Linked DNA regions of Homo sapiens: region 1 is linked to region 2. Evidence: promoter capture Hi-C in 16 types of primary human blood cells and fetal thymus (Javierre and others, 2016). All regions are on one chromosome and are shown on one strand. The core of a region is centred on a gene start or on the middle of the fragment in contact, and the rest is flanking DNA. Distances in the headings are between cores, read along the strand shown. Region 1 overlaps PRPF40A (pre-mRNA processing factor 40A). Region 2 holds the start of RBM43 (RNA binding motif protein 43).

What was found. The method cuts DNA at HindIII sites, captures the fragments that hold promoters and counts their contacts. A CHiCAGO score of 5 or more calls a contact.
Region 1: a fragment that was not itself captured here is called in contact with the fragment with the promoter of RBM43 in region 2 in 4 of 17 cell types (non-activated CD4 T cells, total CD8 T cells, total B cells and 1 more); the score reaches 7.5 in non-activated CD4 T cells.

What each region holds. Positions count from the first base shown.
Region 1 is chr2:152,666,055-152,668,764 of GRCh38, forward strand. The region is part of intron 16 of PRPF40A (pre-mRNA processing factor 40A); the gene reads right to left. Among named protein-coding and RNA genes, the nearest start is that of PRPF40A, 50 kb to the right of the region's middle. The HindIII fragment of the contact is 185 bases long and covers 1,188-1,372 here.
Region 2 is chr2:151,260,262-151,263,209 of GRCh38, forward strand. RBM43 (RNA binding motif protein 43) reads right to left here and starts at 1,602. Exons shown (of 4, transcript NM_198557.3): 1 at 1,464-1,602. The coding sequence starts at 1,466. RefSeq lists a silencer at 1,146-1,415 and an enhancer at 1,456-1,685. The HindIII fragment of the contact is 8,034 bases long and covers 1-2,948 here.

The DNA of each region.
Region 1 (2,710 bases), core at 30-2,529, 1.4 Mb after region 2:
GACGTAATTTTTTTTTCTTTCTTTCTCTTGGTTGAGGGCGGGGTATGTTTGAGCCCTGTACATTGCAGGATGTTTATCAGCATCTCTCGCCTCTACACACTAGATGCCAGTAGCATGTTCCCCACAAATAGTGACAATCACAAAATCTTTCTTGGTTGAGCACCACTGTCTTAGATCCAAATCGGTATTAATTTTTCTCCATCTTCATCCTTCTTTTTGTTCTCTTATATACTGTTCTCAATGTAACTGTATTCATATATATGCTTGAATTCCCAACTTTCCGAGATGTTGTTTAATGAGACTCACCCTTATTTTTCAATTCTTCCTTCATTCTCTCCCTCTTAACTGGTTTCCTCTTACCCAAGAAAAGCCTTTCTCTTAACTGCAAGCTTATTTGAATTTTACCTTATTGAATATCTTTCAACTATTTGGCAGACCTTTAACTTTCCCTACCATGCCAATGGTCACTAAACACCTTAAATGCCACTCTTAACACCTTAAATGCCACCCTTAACAGTATTCTTTCAGTCCTCATTCCATAAAAATTTCTTAACATGTTACTTTAGGTGGATTCCTTTACCTCAGGGGTTTCTCAAAGACTCATTTGAAGGACTGTTTAAAAAAATCATATTGTTAGGTCCCATTTCCAGAATCTGATTCTGTAAGTCTGACGTGGAGTTTGAGAATATGCATTTTCATAATTTCCCAGGTGATACTGATTCTGTGCATTTGGGGATCATGCTCTATCTTAAAATTCCAAACTCTTGGCTTCTGAGACACTATACATTCCTCTGGTTCTCCTTGAAAGCCTCAGATCAATCCTTTCCAGACAAAACTGACTTCAAATACCAGTTTTAAGACATAAGAAAAACAAGATCATAGTTTCCTTGTCACAGACATGATGAATTTTCTGATTAGCAAATGAACACTAAATAAAAAGCTAGTCATCATCATAATCATAACTACTGAGAAGCTCTCCATTAATGATCTTTTATTGTCTAATGCCAATCTTCTCTTTTAATTCATTTCACTAAAGTCCTAAATAAATCTTTTGAAATAGCACAACAGGAAAATTACCAGGCTGAATATCTGAAAGAATATTAATACAACATACTTAACACCAATTATATTAGTAGTAATCAGAAACTATGCCAGACACATAGCAATCTGATTCAAAGCCACATTTAAGCTTATTTAAGGAACCGTAACAGCCTTCACATCAAAATTTTGCCTCACAGTCTCCATCTTCAATATTGTTTACATTATAGTCTCGTATTTTCTATGACCCAGACCTTATTTTCACTGTATTATTATTTTTTCATATATGTCTCCTTATTTTAAACCACTGCAAAACCTTCATCAGAGACATTAAAGCTTAAGTTGTGGAAGAGTGTATAATAGCCCTCCTAAGAATCTGTCCTCCCCTTCTTTCTGGGCACATGGCTGCTTAGCTAAAAGCTAAGTTTTCTAGCCTCCTTTGTGTAGCTAGTTGTGGCCCTGTGACTAAATTCTCAGCAACTGAACCCAAATGAAGGAGGTGAGCAGAACTTCTACATCATTAGCTTTAAGAAGAACTGTTCTTTCTACTTTTTCCAAGTTAAAATGTGAAATGGGGGCAGCATACCCCTAACTCTGCAGAGAAGGTTAACATGCTAGCGCACTGGTTCTCAAACTATGGTCCAACAGTATCAATATCACCTGGAAATTTAGAAATGAAATTTTCAGACTCCACCCCAGACTTACTAATTCAAATTCTTCAGGTAAGGCTAAACAATTTGTGTTTTTAACCGTTGTAGAACATGATCAAGTCTAGAAAGTCACTAAGATAAAGGAACCTATCAAGAGTAGTAAATGTTAAGTTTTCATTGAATAAGGACTGAAATCTTTCTACTGGCTGTGACGTTTAACACAGTAACCTTTGGCATAGCGCGAATAATTTTTTTTTTTGGAGACAGGATCTCGCTCTTTTGCACAGTCTAGAGTGCAGTGGCACCATCGCAGCTCACTGCAGCCTTGACCTCCTGGGCTCAGGTTCTCCCACCTCAGCCTCCTGAGTAGCTGGGACTACAGGCATGCACCACCACACCCGGCTAATTATTATTATTATTATTTTGTATTTTTAGTAGGGACCGGGTTTCATCGTGTTACCCAGGCTGGTCTTGAACTTCTGGACTCAAGCAGTTGCCAGCCTCAGCCTCTCAAAGTGCTGGGATTATGGGCATGAGCCACCGTGCCCGGCCAGAAGAAATTTTTTAAAAATCCTCCACTTCATTCTGATACACTGAATTTTGAGAACCACTGCCTTAAGGGATGGCAATATGCCCTGCCCTAGACCAAAAAGACTGTTACTTCAAGAAAAAAACTTATTTAAGCCATTGTAACCTAGCATTTATCCTAATACAATGGTTAATGGAAGAGACCCTGTAATCAAAACTGCATGGATTCAAATTCTGGCTTCACTATTCAGCAGCTGTTGAACTTGGGCAAGTCACTTCACCTCTCCATTTCCTTAGTTATATAAACTTATATAACAAAAACAGTAAGTACCCTTATAAGGTAAGACTGTCATAAAAATTGAGATTACAAATGTAAATTGTATTGACAGTAAGCAATCAAAGAATATTAGCTATTATAATTATTGAAATAGGTGAGATATGAAATGCAAAAAATTCATTGCTCCATGATATTTTCTATCACTGAAAATAAAAAT
Region 2 (2,948 bases), core at 352-2,851:
ACTACAGGTGGATGCCATCACGCCCAGCTAATTTTTGTATTTTTAGTAGAGACTCCTGACCTCAAGTGATCCGCCCTCCTTCGCCTCCCAAAGTGCTGGGATTACAGGCGTGAGCCACCGTGCCGGGCAGGGAGATCATTTTCTGCACCCCAACAATATCAAAGAAAAACATGCAATCAATTTAAACTCAGGAAATCTTACTTCAGCTCTATGCCCTCATTAGTACTAATACCATATTTCTTTATTCGAATGTCTACTGGTAATTTATCTTTAAAATCAAAGAAACTTCTCCCTGAACCAGTATTTTTAGAAGAAAAAAACATAAAGATGTAAATTTTGTTTGGTAAGAACTAGTTTCTATGAATCATCTAATGAATTAGTACTTCAATGACTTGCCAATATTTGTCCTTAACTCCCTTTCATAGGTTGGAGAAAGTATGGCTAACATAGATAATTTTACTGAGGTCAATTATGAATAATGAGGGTTGTTCATCTCTTCTACCCACGATTAAGATAAAGAAATGCCTAGAGAAAGACAGTCCTTTCAAGGACTTTGAAACGAGCAGCTTTTAGCCAAGACATACTAACGTGATGGCGCATTTCCTTGCATCAGTATTGTGTTATAACAGACTTGGCCATCTTATCAGAAAGCAAAAAGTATATAGCAAAACTTTACTTTTGTAAGTAAGGCATTGGGAAGAAACAGAAGATTCATTGACTGCATTTGTTTATATTGATTTTCTCAAAATCAGTTGTTTATTTTCAATGACGACGCCTCTACCGCCACCAGGTCAACAAAAACGTACTTGCTTTTGCATTTCCGGGACTCTAGCATTTCAGAGCAGGAATTAAAGGCCTTGCCAAGGCTTTTAAGCGATTGATGGAAACAAAACAAAACACAGAAGGATAAATTTTGAATTTGCTAAGACAAGAATTCGCACCAAGGCAGACATAAGACATGAGGATGTCTTCCTGACTTGCGTCCTTGGCTCGAATCGTTCTTATTAGCCCTTTTCAAAAGGCAGCTGTGACCTCCATTTCTGGCTAATCAGGCCACTTTTGTTCCCCCCGAGGCGTGGGAGGACAACAGTTAAGCCCTAACAGCCTGCGAAGCAGCTCCTCGACGAACGGCGGCGTCCCCGTCGCCTGGGCAGTGGGTGTGGGAGGTGACAGCCTAGTCCTGAGCCTCTGGAGCGGGCCTATACTGCACCGCCGTACGTGAATTTCAGGAGCGCGCAATGCCGCCACCTGGGAAGGGTGCAGCGAGGCTGACCTGAGTTTGCCCGCCGGGGTGGACGGCTCTCCGGGGCCCCCGGGGTCCCTGGGGCCCCTCCGTGCGCCGCCCCCTCCCGCGCAGCCCTGCACCCTGGCCCGTCGCGCCCGGTTCCGCGCCCTTCTAGGGGACCATGGCGACGGTACAGGCACGGACCTGCACCGCAAAACCCAAAGCAAAAGCAACTTGCCATGGCGGAGGGGAGACGCGCCCTCAGCGGCCGCAGAAAGCCCACAACCAGCGGAACGCAGGCGATGGGGAGAGGAGCGAGCAGGCAGGTTTTGGTTTCGTTTTTTGTTCCAGCTCCCTTGGAGGCTACGAAGAAAAGGGCGGTCCTTCCACCCGATCCGGCTGTTCTGCGACCTCGTGGCCTCTGAGTGGGAGCTCGGACTCAGGAGTGCTGTTGCCAGCGCCTGCCCAGACGCCCTCCGTAGTTTTGCAACTTGTGGAAGCACTCTGGAGAGAGGCCGAGAGGATTCCTCGACAGGAAATTTGGGAATTCTCTGGGTGATGCATCAGTGATTGCAATTTTGTTTTTACCCGTTTTGCTAAGCAGCAGCAACAACGGCAGAGTTGATTTAAAAAAAGAAAAAACGCAAAAAGGGAAAACACATAGTAGGTGGTGGCCGCTTCCTGTGTTGATACTGGGGGGCTACGCTTTTCCTAACATCAATCATCTCGTAGTTGCAGAGAGCCCTAGATGTCATGATAGTTTTGAATCGCATGCATTATCATGTAAGGGAGTTAAATATCTTGCATGCATGCTCTCTTCTGTGTTTATATATTCGATGCCATGAAATTGAAGGGCATGTGGCTAAAACCTTTTTACTACATGAAACTTTACAACACTTTTGAAAACATTTCAATTTGGTTGATGCGCACTGTAATATTTCTCCAGATAACTGTCCAAAATTTTCCATGGAGAAGGCTTTTATCCTCATTAGTTGCTGGCCTCAAACTAACCATCTAGGATATTAAACTTCTGCCAGAATTTTACATCCAGCTACCTTTACTTTTTAGAACGTATTCTCTATCATGTTATTGATATCAATTTCTACTTCACACAGATGGTTTTTTACAACAGCAAATCAAGTTTTTCTAACATCAGTTTTAAAAAGCCCTGCACTCAGTGAAATCTGGATGTCTTTCCTACGCCCTTATTATCTGTCCAGACTTCTTCCCCTTCCCCCACCGCTCACCTGGGCCTTTTCCTCTGCACAACCTACCCCAGTTCCCCAACCCCCACCTCAACCCCCAACGCCGTGTTGGTCACCTTCCCAGCCCAGACCAGGAGCCCTCTTGGACCTCTGCCGGGTGCTAAGGACACAGGATGAGAGCGCCAGGTCCCTGCCAGCAGAGAGCTCACCACCTTGTCCATGCCTTAGCACAGGAACCCCGAATGGCGCCTGTGGGGACACAGGGAATCTCTGGACAAACTTCAAAATCAAATCAATGAATGCATGAAGAACAAAGGTAGATGGCTAGCAGATATGAAGAAACCCAATCCCACTCCTAAGAAATGTAAATTGAAATAATAAGATACCATTTTTCACAACTAGATCTGCAAAACCAGAAAGTGTTAGCCTGAATGTAAGCATCAGAGTTGCTGCAAGCATAGATGGATGCAAATACTTCTAAAGATTTTTATCAAAATGTAAAGTGCAAAAAAATGTAA